Regions from separate parts of the Homo sapiens genome. Here region 2 is linked to region 1. Evidence: promoter capture Hi-C in 16 types of primary human blood cells and fetal thymus (Javierre and others, 2016). All regions are on one chromosome and are shown on one strand. The core of a region is centred on a gene start or on the middle of the fragment in contact, and the rest is flanking DNA. Distances in the headings are between cores, read along the strand shown.

What was found. The method cuts DNA at HindIII sites, captures the fragments that hold promoters and counts their contacts. A CHiCAGO score of 5 or more calls a contact.
Region 2: a contact is called between a fragment that was not itself captured here and the fragment with the promoter of PHF13 in region 1, in 3 of 17 cell types (neutrophils, naive CD4 T cells and erythroblasts). The highest score is 6.0, in neutrophils.

What each region holds. Positions count from the first base shown.
Region 1 is chr1:6,609,839-6,615,882 of GRCh38, forward strand. PHF13 (PHD finger protein 13) reads left to right here and starts at 3,893. Exons shown (of 4, transcript NM_153812.3): 1 at 3,893-4,267. The coding sequence starts at 4,229. LOC107984913 (a long non-coding RNA gene) reads right to left here and starts at 3,549. Exons shown (of 2, transcript XR_001737882.3): 1 at 2,854-3,549. RefSeq lists silencers at 3,342-3,391, 3,442-4,221, 4,392-4,481, 4,622-5,081. The HindIII fragment of the contact is 6,383 bases long and covers 1-5,994 here.
Region 2 is chr1:6,519,503-6,525,539 of GRCh38, forward strand. It overlaps NOL9 (nucleolar protein 9), which reads right to left. Exons shown (of 12, transcript NM_024654.5): 12 at 1,845-6,037. It also overlaps a transcript of PLEKHG5 not described here. Among named protein-coding and RNA genes, the nearest start is that of PLEKHG5, 31 kb to the left of the region's middle. RefSeq lists a silencer at 427-721 and an enhancer at 787-1,081. The HindIII fragment of the contact is 4,167 bases long and covers 2,140-6,037 here.

The sequences.
Region 1 (6,044 bases), core at 2,643-5,142:
AACAAACCTAATCCTGTCACAGAAAATCAACTGTGTTTTTTGAGACGGAGTCTGACTCTGTCGCCAGGCTGCAGTGCAGTGGCATGATCTCCGCTCACTGCAACCTCTGCCTTCCGGGTTCACGCCATTCTCCTGCCTCAGCCTCCGGAGTAGCTGGGACTACAGATGCGTGCCACCACACCCAGATAATTTTTGTATTTTTAGTACAGACAGGGTTTCAACATGTTGGACAGGATGGTCTTGATCTCTTGACCTCGTGATTCGCCCGCCTCGGCCTCCCAAAGTGCTGGGATTACAGGCGTGAGAAAATCAACTTTATTACTCCACAGCTACATATTATGAGATCGTTTGGGTCAACTACAAGTGGTATAGTCCTTTTTCTGAATTTAGGGAAAGGATGCTAAACATTAATGTCTAAATTTCCTCCAAAGGGCTGTATTTCTAAGGGAAATGGAAAGACAAAAGAGGTCCTTTTTCTTGAAGTTTTCTCTTTCACTGGAGTAGCAGGAAGGTACAGGTCATATCTATGTACTAAAAATTACTGTTTACTAAAAACATATTCAATAAATATCTGGGTGCGGTGGCTTATGCCTGTAATCCCAGCACTTTGGGAGGCTGAGACAGGCAGATCACATGAGGCCAAGAGTTCAAGACCAGCCTGTCCAACATGGTGAAACCCCGTCTCTACTAAAAATACAAAAAATTAGCCGGGTGTTGTGGCGCATGCCTGTAATCCCAGCTCTCAGGAGGCTGAGGCAGGAGAATCGCTTGAACCCGGGAGATAGAGGTTGTGGTGAACCAGGATCACACCACTGTACTCCAGCAGGGGCAACAAGAGTGAAACTGTCTCAAAAAAGAAAGAAGAATAAACTCTCAAATTGGAAATGAAGGACCTACTCAGAATAATGGACTTGTTGACAAAACTGAGCTTAGAATTCACAGGCCTATATTGGACTACTTGGTTACATCAAGGAAGGAAAATCCCAAACATGGATTGAGTCAGGGGACAGATTTTCAGACTCAAGTGATAACTTTTGCTCAGAGTGGGTATTCACTCCAGGCAGGCAAGATAGCTCAGGACTGTAAACTCTACAATTTGGGAGGCCTGGGTGGGAGGATCCCTTGAGCCCAGGAGTTCCAGAACAGCCTTGGCAACATACGGAGACCCTGTCTTAAAAAAAAAAAAATTAGGCCTGGCATGGTGGCTCACGCCTGTTAATCCCAGCACTTTGGGGGAGGCTGAGGCGGGTGGCCATTCTTTCTTTTTTTGAGATGGAGTTTCGCTCTTGTTGCCCAGGCTGGAGTGCAATGGCGTGATCTCGGCTCACTGCAACCTCCACCTCCCTGACCCATGTCGGTCAGGCTGGTCTCGAACTCCTGACCTCAGGTGATCTGCCTGCCTCGGCCTCCCAAAGTGCTAGGATTACAGGTGTGAGCCACCGTGCCTGGCCCGATAATTTCTTAATATGTGTGTGTGTGGGAAAGGATTTAATGTTTATTATGTGACACATTTACCACAGGGGATAATAATGAGGTGTAAAAAAAAAAATCCCTCTTCTTTCACTTGGGTTTCACCTCTAATAATTATTCTTGGCCAGGCGCGGTGGCTCACGCCTGTAATCCCTGCACTTTGGGAGGCCTAGGTGTGCGGATCACGAGGTCAAGAGATCAAGACCATCTGGCCAACATGGTGAAACCCTGTCTGTACTAAAAATACAAAAACTAGCTGGGCGTGGTGGTGGGCGCTGGTAGTCCAGGCTACTTGGGAGGCTGAGGCAGGAGAATCGCTTGAACCCGGGAGGTGGAGGTTGCAGTGAGCTGAGATGGCGCCACTGTACTCCAGCCTGGCGACAGAGGGAGATTCTGTCTCCAAAAAAAAAAAGAATTATTCTTTTTGGTATTTACATTTTTAAACTACCAACGGGATCAACACCTTAGCAGTGTTTCTTATTCTGGCAAAACGAGTTGCTCCTTGTGAATATGACCTTGGGCAATACAGGCTAACTTCGGGGCATCTGCTTTGGTCACAGTAACCAGGTAACATTCCAAATCTGGCTAAATCATCTGTGCAATTGTATAAGAAGTTGTTAATCAAGTCTCGATGGGCCAAGTCCAATGTCTCTGTTTTAATCAGTAATTTCATGTTTTATCTTGTAAAGTACCTCAATTTATCACCTTTGGGAAGCCCTCCAATGGGCTACAATATTGCAGAAATAATAAAACAACAACAACAACAACAACAGTAAGCTACCATTTATTTAGCCAGGCACTACGCTAAAATTTAACAGCTTAGGAAACTGAGGCTCAGAGAAGTATTTTTTTTTTTTTTTTTGAGACAGAGTCTCGCTCTGTCGCCCAGGCTGGAGTGCAGTGGCACGATCTCGGCTCACTGCAAGCTCCGCCTCCCGGGTTCAAGCAATTCTCCCGCCTCAGCCTCCCGAGTAGCTGGGATTACAGGTGTCCGCCACCACGCCCATCTAATTTTTGTATTTTTAGTAAAGACGGGGTTTCACCATGTTGGTCAGGCTGGTTTCGAACTCCTGACCTCGTGATCCACCCGCCTCGGCCTCCCAAAGTGCTGGGAATACAGGCGCGAGCCACCGCGCCCGGCCGCTCAGAGAAGTATTTCTAAGATTAACACCATCTCCTAACTATTAAATATCTTCATCAGAATGATCATAACCCTTGAAATAGCAACAGCCAGCTTGATGGAGCATTCGGCGCCTGTCAAATATCTTACTAGTATCTCCAAGAGTTCGTTTTCTAATTTGAATTTTCAATTTTGTGTCACTCCCCTTTAACTTCTTCGAAGCTACCAAACAGGTTACTGAATCATCTGCGTTTTGTACTTACCTTTTTCCCCCACTTTCGAATATTAAAAATGTTCCCGTCAGACCGCCTTTTGGTCACCGCATAGGGGCAGTCCCCACCGTGTCCGGCCAGCCTTCCACACGTACAGCTGTCGGATACTCTGCGGTCCAGCGTTTACACACTGCCCATCCCAGTTAAACACCACTAAACAAGTACCAGTCGATGCCAGCGCCAAACACCGCGTCTCCGCCTCGCCCTGCGGGCCGGAGGATATTCAGGAGAGTGGGAAAACGGCCGGTCCCAAGGTTAGGCTTAGGCGGCAACAGAAAGCAAACTGAACGCACACCTCTTTAGAACACTGACAACGCTGGCCCGGTGTTTTTAATGCACGAACCCGGCCACCTCGAGTGAATCCCGCAGATGCCTAGAGAAGAGCCCGGTCCAGTCCCGGCCCCGCGGGCCCGGAGCAGGGAGCCGCACGAAGCCCGCAGCCGCGAAAACAACTTCGCTGAGCCCGGCCTGGAGCGGGGGCCGGGCGGCGACTCCGCCCTCAGCGGGGAGCGGGGAGCGGGGAGCGATGCCCGGGGCGGCCGCGACGTCAGCGTCCCCGCCCCTGCCGCCCCTACTCCCGGCCAGGCCTCGGGGACCCCCGCCCCACAAAGGGGCGCGAACCCCAAGTAGGAGACGAGGAAGGGTAGGTGCCAGCCGCCGCCGCCCTTCGCAACCCGGGCCGTCAGCCCCGCCCCCACCGCCGCAGCGACTCCCGCCCCCGCGCCCGCCGAGACCAAGGCGCTACCGCTCACACTGCCCCTCCCCCCGCGGCCGAGCCGGCGCGGGCCCCCGCACCTCCCCCGCTCGCGCGGCCTCGAGTCCAGAAGACCCGCCTCCACACACCGGGGCCGCCGCCGCGGAGCCTCATGGGGGTTGGAGTCCCCAAGGTTTCCTTTGTGCGCAGTATTGGCGGGGCCTTGGACTACCACTCCCACAAGGCACCGCGCCCGCCTCCCGCGCCACGCCCCCTCGCCGCTGGCTTCCAGTCGCCACCCAGACTACATTTCCCGACAGGCCTCCCGGCTCTCCCGCCCTCCCTCCCGAGACACGAGCCGAACTGGGCGTCAGGTCGGGGAGCCGGTCGGGTTCCCGCTCACCGCCGCCGCCGCCGCCCCCTGCAGCCACTCTCCCGCCTCTACCGCCGCGGGAGCTGCATCGTCCACTCCGGTCGGCGGTGGAACCGCCAGTCCGGGGTCACAGAGCTTGAGAAGCGACGCGCTGAGCCCCCCATCACCTCCAGCCCGGGCGACCCCTCCCGGGTCCGCCCTCGCCCTGCGCAGCCGCCCGAGCCCCCAGCCCCGGGCGGCCCCGCTCCAGCATCCCAGCTCCTGCACTCTCGCAGCCGCCGCCGCCCCCCGCCCGGAACATGGACTCTGACTCTTGCGCCGCCGCCTTCCACCCGGAGGTGAGTGAAGCTGTGCGTCCGAATCGCCCCCGACCACCCCCTCCGCGATCCTGCCGTCCTCAGGCAGCCAGACCCCCGGTCGCCCGGAGCGCCGCCCTCCCCTTCCCCCGCTTTCCCCTCGTCGGCCCCCCCGGGAGCCCAACCCCCGCCCCCTGCTCGGGCCCGCGCTCGGTCCTCTCCGCCGGGCCTCGCCTCCGCGTCCCCTCCGCGGACCTCCGCGTCCTCCCCGCGCCCTTTCCCCAGGGCCGTTGCGCCTATTTCTCTCCCCCGGGCCGCCCCTCTCCGGCCTCGCGTCGACCTGGGACCTGTCGGCGCCCCCAGCCCCTCCCCGCCGGCCTGCTTACTCTTTCCCCGCCCCCGGGGACGCGGTCCGAGCCGCCGCCCGCCCCTGGCTCCGGTTGCTCTCGAGGAGTTTTAGGCCCCCCTCGGACCGGGGTCGGCTCCCGAGGCCCCCGGCTGCTCCCCCGATCCCCCGGGCCCGGTGGCCCGCGCCCCGCCCCCTGACTCCGCGCGGGGCCCAGTCGGCCCCCGCCCCCTACGGCTCTCGGGGGCCGCGTCCTCCGGGGGCCCCACCCGCTCTGGGGACCCGAGTCCTGCCCCCACCCACCGCCCCCCGGCGCGCTGGCCTCTCTCTTCGGGCCCCCGCCCCCCGCCCGCGGGCTTTGCTGGCTCCGCCCCGGCTCACTCCCCCTCCTTCCGGGGATCGGCCCTCGGGGCTCCCGGCCTCCCCCCCGCGCGGTCCCCTCCCCCCAGCCGAGGCTCGTTGGGGTCGGGGGTGCGGGTCCGGCGACCGCGGGCGGGTGGGGGAGGGGAGGCGGCGCCGGAGCCCGCCGGTCTCGCTGCCGCCCCCGGGGGTTCGCAGGGCCTCCCCAGGCCTGGGACCCCGGAATCCTGCCTGGCGCACCCCCCTCACACATACTCGCGGGATGGGCCCCGCACCTTCGGGGGCCGAGTGTCGCGGGGGGCGGCTGCCGCGGGAGGGCGGGTGGGGGCCGCTCCGCCATCTGCTTTCCGAGGAGGCGGCCGGGGGGGCGGGCGGCGTGGGCCGTGTGGGGGCGGCGTGGAACCCCCAGTCCCCGCGCCGGTGCCTCCCGCGCGCCCCCGGCCCGAGGCCGTCGCCGCCCTCCACTTGGCATTCGGGTTTTTGACCCACTTCTGCTGGTTCCCCGCCGAAAGAAAAGTTCTTCGCGGGAGTTGGAGGCCCGGGTGGCGGCCCGCGGTTCCCGTGGCTGGGCAGGCTCGCCAGTGCGGGGAGCGCGGTCAACGCGGGCCTTCGCCTCCGCTCCGTGGGCGGCCCTGGGGTCCAAGGGGGTGGGAGAGGAGAAGGTTTGCTTGAACCAGGTTGAGAAAATAATTTTCTAAGGGCACCGACTTTCTCGAAAGAAAACCCGCGGGCCGCACGCCTGCTCCTCGCGGCGGGAGGGGCGGCCCGAGACCCCTGCCCCCCATTTCCCCACCGGCTCTCCCCCAGCAGAGTGGCGGCCGGGTAACAGCACCTCGGGAAGGATGGGGGTGGGTCGGACAAGGCACTGAAAGGAACCTCAGGGAACGTGCCGGGCGAATAAACAGCAATACGGCACACTTGTTTTGCTTAGGAGCAAATAAGAGCTCCATCTCTCCGTGCTTCTCTCAGGAGAAAATATCTTTTTGTGATGGGTGTTTCTAGATGGAATGGGGCTGGGACCCGCGAGCAAAAACCTCCACTATTCCGTTTAAATGTAAGACTAAGCTTCGCAGTAAGGTTCTTGGTTTATTGTGAGTTGAGATAGTTGGGTGC
Region 2 (6,037 bases), core at 2,973-5,472, 90 kb before region 1:
TGAATTCATGCTTGACCTCTGCGGTGGTGGCACCCTGCCTGGACCTCCAGCCACATGCCAATGCCACAGGCCTCTCTAATCAGACACACAGGTCTCCGTCCTGCTTTGCCCAGTTGCCATCTCAACATGGAAGGCTTCTCCCCGACTCAGCCCCAGTCTTAATTTCTGCAGCTGGACCTGTCTGCACAGAAAACCAAGGCGCTCTCAGCCCTGCCAATTTGCTCCCCGTCCAACACAGGTCCCCTGGGCGCTGTATATTTGAAGGCACAGACTTCGCAGCCGCCGCTCACACTGCATTTCCTTGTTGGTGGTTGGTTCCTTCTTGGATTTTCCATTCCTGAGTGCCCATTTGCGCCCTGGAATGGGCTCCCACACTGCTGGCTGCCCTGGAGGTGCCGTCCCTCCTTTCCAGGAAAGCAACACCACAGAGACCCCGGCCTCTGCAATCCCAGCAGCCAGCAGCAGCCCCTCTGCTGGGCTCCTTGGCTACCAGGAAGGCCTTAGTTTGGTGGCTTTCCCCTGCCAGGCAGAGAGGGGCTGGTCACAGCGGGAGATCAAGTGAGCCTCAAAACATTAGAAAAACCCAAGCCAGTCTGCAGAGCACCGCAGCCGCCTCAGGGCCGGTTACCATAGCTACCCTTGGCTTCCCAGCCCAGCACATGTCTGCCCAGCTGAACTCTGCTGATTCGCAAGACTTTGCTTGCTCAGCTCCTGGCACTGCAGACTGGACCTGCTGCCCCCAACTCGGCGGCTACCGCTCTTCCTGGCAAAGCCTTGGGAATACTTAACTTAGCAAGGTCTTTCTGAAAAGGCCCTGAACATCACGTAGGCTTCCCCACTTACTGCATAGATGGCCCCCATATTTACTTTAGCCACTGTTCAGGCTGGGCTTGTCAGCCAATCTCTCTCTGCTAGGCCCAACCCTATGAGGTGTGGGAAGACAAGGGCTGAGTCCTCGCTGCCGAGAGGCAGTTTTATCGGCACAGCACTAGGTGGGGGTTTGTTTCAGTTTTTTTTTTGTTTTTCTTTTAAGTAGATGGTGTCTCACTATGTTGACCAGGCTGATCTCAAACTCTTGGCCTCAAGTGATCCTCCTGCCTCAGCCTTCCAAGGTGCTGGGATTACAGGCATGAGTCATTTTAGTTTTTTAAAACTTGAACTCTTCCAGGAGCAAAGCCCTGTTTCCTTCTAATACACTCCCAAAGACAGTCCAGAAAGAATGCAACATCCCCTCTTTACTTACATATGAACCAAGACAGGAAAATTAAACTCCCACTTGAGCTTCAAGTCAGTGACAAATAAAAATTAAAAATACTGAAAAAATAAACTCCCACTGCACTCAATACTTCAATGGTTAAAAACAACAACAACAAAACAGGCCAGGCACAGTGGCTCATGCCTGTAATCCCAGCACTTTGGGAGGCCGAGGCGGGTGGAACACCTGAGGTCAGTTTAAGACCAGCCTGGCCAATATGGTGAAACCCCCTCTCTAGTAAAAATACAAAAGTGAGCTGGGTGTGGTGGTGCCTGCCTGTCGTCCCAGCTACTGGGGAAGCTGAGGCAGGAGAATTGCTTGAATCTGGGAGGTGGAAATTGCAGTGAGCCGAGATTGCACCATCGCACTCCAGCCTGGGCAAAAGAGACTCTGTCTCAAAAAGAAAAAAAAGGGCACAACAAAACAAACAAACAAACACATCACAAGCATTTGCTGGAGTCTCCACACTTCATTAACCGCCTTTCAACATTTTTTTTCCTCCCAGTGTTTTTTCACTATAGTTTCTTCTAAGCATTTAAGTGATTACCTGGAATAAAATGACCTATCTACATAAAATTACACAACTAAATTCATGTTTTCAAAAATATTTAATGATACAAAAGTTCATCTGTTAACTGAAAAGAGCTGAACAGAAACCATACATATTTTGTAAAATACACACACACACAGCAGAACCCCAGCTGAGACACCTCACAGTGTCAGTGATTACTATGTGGTGGTGGGCTGGAGGATCATTTTCTACATGTGTAAGCTGCTTATAAAATTTTAAAAGCAACAAGTGGGGGTTTATGAAAAACTTTCAGGAATGGGTTATCTATGGTGGCCGTGGAGCTTGCTTCCTCAAGGGCTCTTTGACCACAGGAAGCTTGGTAGCAACAATTTTAAGGTGAACCTGCCAGAGGCAAGATGAGTAAGTAGCTGTGGATTCATTTAGTTTCTGCATCCCTCCAGCATGACCGTGAGTAGCACAGCCGTGGTGCCAGCCTCCTGAGTTTACCATCTCATCAGAGGCTAGCTACACACTAGGAGTTACTGACCGTTTCTACATGCCGGAGACTGTGCTACATCTCTTATAGACATGACTTCACTTACTCCTCACCCAGGAACACTGAAGGAAGGACAATTACCCAATCTTCAAAACATAAAACAGGCTCAGGCTAAGCATCTTCCTCCAAGTTACACCACTGACAAGTGGTAGAGCCAGGATTTGAACTCAGAGCTCTATAATCAAAGCCTGCTGTCTTATCCATGATCTTGCCATCCAAACCCAAAAACAAATGACCTAGGCCGGGCGCGGTGGCTCACGCCTGTAATCCCAGCACTTTGGGAGGCCAAGGTGGACGGATCACGAGGTCAGGAGCTCGAGACCAGCCTAGCCAACATAGTAAAACCCCATCTCTACTAAAAATACAAAAAAAATTAGCTAGTGTAGTGGCGGGCGCCTGTAATCCCGGATACTTTGAAAATTACATACAAAAATTACTAAGAGGCCCAGGCACAGTGTCTTATGCCTGTAATCCCAACACCTTGGGAGGCCAAGGCAGGCGGATCCCCTGAGGTTGGAAGTTCGAGACCAGCCTGACCAATAAAGTGAAACGCCATCTCTACTAAAAATACAAAAATTAGCTGGGTGTGGTGGCAGGCGCCTGTAATCCCAGCTACTTGGGAGGCTGAAGCAGGAGAATCGCTTGAACCCAGGAGGCAGAGGTTGCAGTGACCTGAGATCAGGCCACTGCACTCCAGCCTTGGCGACAGAGAGTCCGTCGCAAAAGAAAAAAACAAACAAACAAACAAAAACTAAGAGCTTTTGTAAAGAATAGCTTCAGGCCAGGCGCAGTGGCTCACGCCTGTAATCCCAGCACTTTCGGAGGCCAAGGCGGGCGGATCACGAGGTCAGGAGTTCGAGACCAGCCTGACCAACATGGTGAAACCCTGTCTCTACTAAAAATACAAAAATTAGCTGGGCGTGGTGGCATACGCCTGTAATCCCAGCTACTCAGGAGGCTGAGGCAGGAGAATCGCTTAAACCTGGGAGGCGGAAGTTGCAGTGAGCCGAGATCACTCCACTGCACCCCAGCCTGGGCGACAGAGCTAGACTCTGTCTCAAAAAAAAAAAAAAAAAAGAAATTGCTTCAGCACTTTGGGAGGCCGAGGCAAGCGGATCACAAGGTCAGGAGATCGAGACCAGCCTAGCCAATACGGTGAAACCCTATCTCTACTAAAAATATAAAAATTAGCCAGGCATGGTGGCGCTCACCTGTAATCCCAGCTACTTGGGAGGCTGGGGCAGAAGAATCACTTGAACCCGGGAGGGGAGAGGCTGTAGTGAGCCAAGGTCGTGCCACTGCACCCCAGCCTGGGTGACAGAGCGAGACTCTGTCTCAAAAAAAAAGAAAAAAAAAAAAGAATAGCTCCAATGGAGAACTCCTTACTACCTAATCTGACCCATAACAGACTGTGGAAATGATAAAAAGTCCAATCTTGTCCTTCTTCTAAATGCCCTTAAAGCCACTGCCACCAGCCGGGTGCGGTGGCTCATGCCTGTAATCCCAACACTTTGGGAGGCCAAGGCAGGTGGATCACCTGAGGACAGGAGTTCAAAACCAGCCTGGCCAACATGGTGAAACCCCTTCTCTACTAAAAATAGAAAATCAGCCAGGCATGGTGGCGCATGCCTGTAATCCCAGCTACTCGGGAGGTTGAGGCAAGAGAATCACTTGAACCCGGGAGGCGGAGGTGGCAGTGAGCCCAGATTGCGCCACTGCACTCCAGCCTGGGCAACAAGAGCGAAACTCCATCTCAAAAAAAAAAAAAAAAAAAAAAAAGGATAAAAAGGCCACTGCCATCAATAATGGGATGAATTGTCATCCTGGAGAATGGTGCTGCTGCAGGTCTGACCGGCACAAGCTAGACCTGACAGAGGCCTTGGCTCCCTGTCTCCGAACCTCCTTCCCTAAACCCTGTACAGCTTCCTGGGCCAACTCTAGCCCCAGTACGGCCACCTGACCCACAGCTGATAGCTCCCTCTAGAGGCAACGATTTTTCTTTACTGATAGGGACTGAAGAAAAAGACTTGACCTTCATACAGGCCGCATTTAAAGCCTGAAGGCAAACCTAGATTGAATGCAAATGCAATTACAGGGCACCAGTTTCATTCTTCCAGAGCCTTGCTGCAAATGACCTCCAGTGAGTATAACTGTAAGATACACGAAAGTGGAGAAAGGCAAAACATTGATGGTGATGGATTGTCTTAAAATTCTTTACAAGGCCAGCACAGTAAAACATCATATGAATGAGCCAGATTTCAACATAAATAAGGGGCAACTAAGAAGCTAGACTCAATTGTCTCAAAGGTATCAAAACTAATCACCATAGCAAGGTTTCCTGTGCTTATTTTAAGTCCTTTGCTGTTGGGTCTAAGAGGTGCTGAGGGGCCACTGTAAAATACTAAAGACAATGATAACCAACAGTTGTATAAGTGTATATAAGTGTTAAAACCCACACATCCTAATAGTCTTACAATGTGATCATGCTGGGAAGATGGAATTCTGTCAAAGCGGTGGTCACAATACCAGTTTGAACCTCAGCCCCAGGAAGTATCCTGCTGTCTTAAATGCAGAAATGATGTGACCTGGTCCCATCACCCGTTTACACAAACCACTTCCAACCTAGAGGACAGAGTCGGAAGCACCAGGGAGAACGTGGAGAATGGCAGTCTGGTCACCAGCCGCCGGCACCCCCAGGAAAAAGCTCTAAATGGCAGGGTTGTTCATAGGTGCAAGTTCAGGTCCAGCCTCCCACAGGCAATAATGGAGCTTTCCCAAGAGCTGGTCTGCCAGTCCTTCTTCCTTCAAAACAGCCCAGTCTCCAGCTCTGCCCTGTGGTTGTCTCTGGCCTCAGATCAGAAGTCAATTTGGACAAATCTACTTTTATAAGAGCCCCCAGAAGAGGTTTTCCAGATTATTATTTTTTTTTTTTGAGATGGAGTCTTGCTCTTGTTGCCCAGGCTGGAGTGCAGTGGCGTGACCTCGGCTCACTGCAAGCTCCGCCTCCTGGGTTCATGCCATTCTCCTGCCTCAGCCTCCTGAGTAGCTGGGACTATAGGCGCCCACCACCACGCCCAGCTAGTTTTTTGTATTTTTAGTAGAGACGGAGTTTCACTGTGTTAGCCAGGATGGTCTCAATCTCCTGACCTCGTGAACCGCCTGCCTTGGCCTCCCAAAGTGCTGGAATTACAGGCGTGAGCCACTGCGCCTGGCCCCGAGGTTTTCCAGATTTGAAAGAAATTTCCTCAGCATAAAACCTCAGGATTAAAAAAAAGGAAGGGCTCTTGGGTCCAAATTTATATCTATCAAACCCGTTTAAATTTTTCTTTTCTTTTTTAAAAGATAAGGTCTTACTCTGTCGCTCAGGCTGGAGTAGTTGGTGTACTCCAGCCTGGAACTCCGAGGCTCAAGCAATCCTCCCGCCTCAGCCTCCCAAAGTGCTAGGATTACAGGTGTGCATGAGCCACCATGCCCAGCCCTATCTATTAAACCTTGATTGAATATAACAGACCAAGTACAACTGCACCAAATGGATGGGCTGTAACCATCCACACTGGCTCCAAGGAAGCAGACCGCTGGACCCCAGCTCTGCACATGGCTCAGGCAAGGCCCGTGGCGAGCCCTTGTATCCATTATGCTTGAGATCCTGCAGGTCGGCCTTCTTCCTTCCTTCTCGGTACATTGTAATGGCCCCAGTTTCCTTATTTTTATCCTG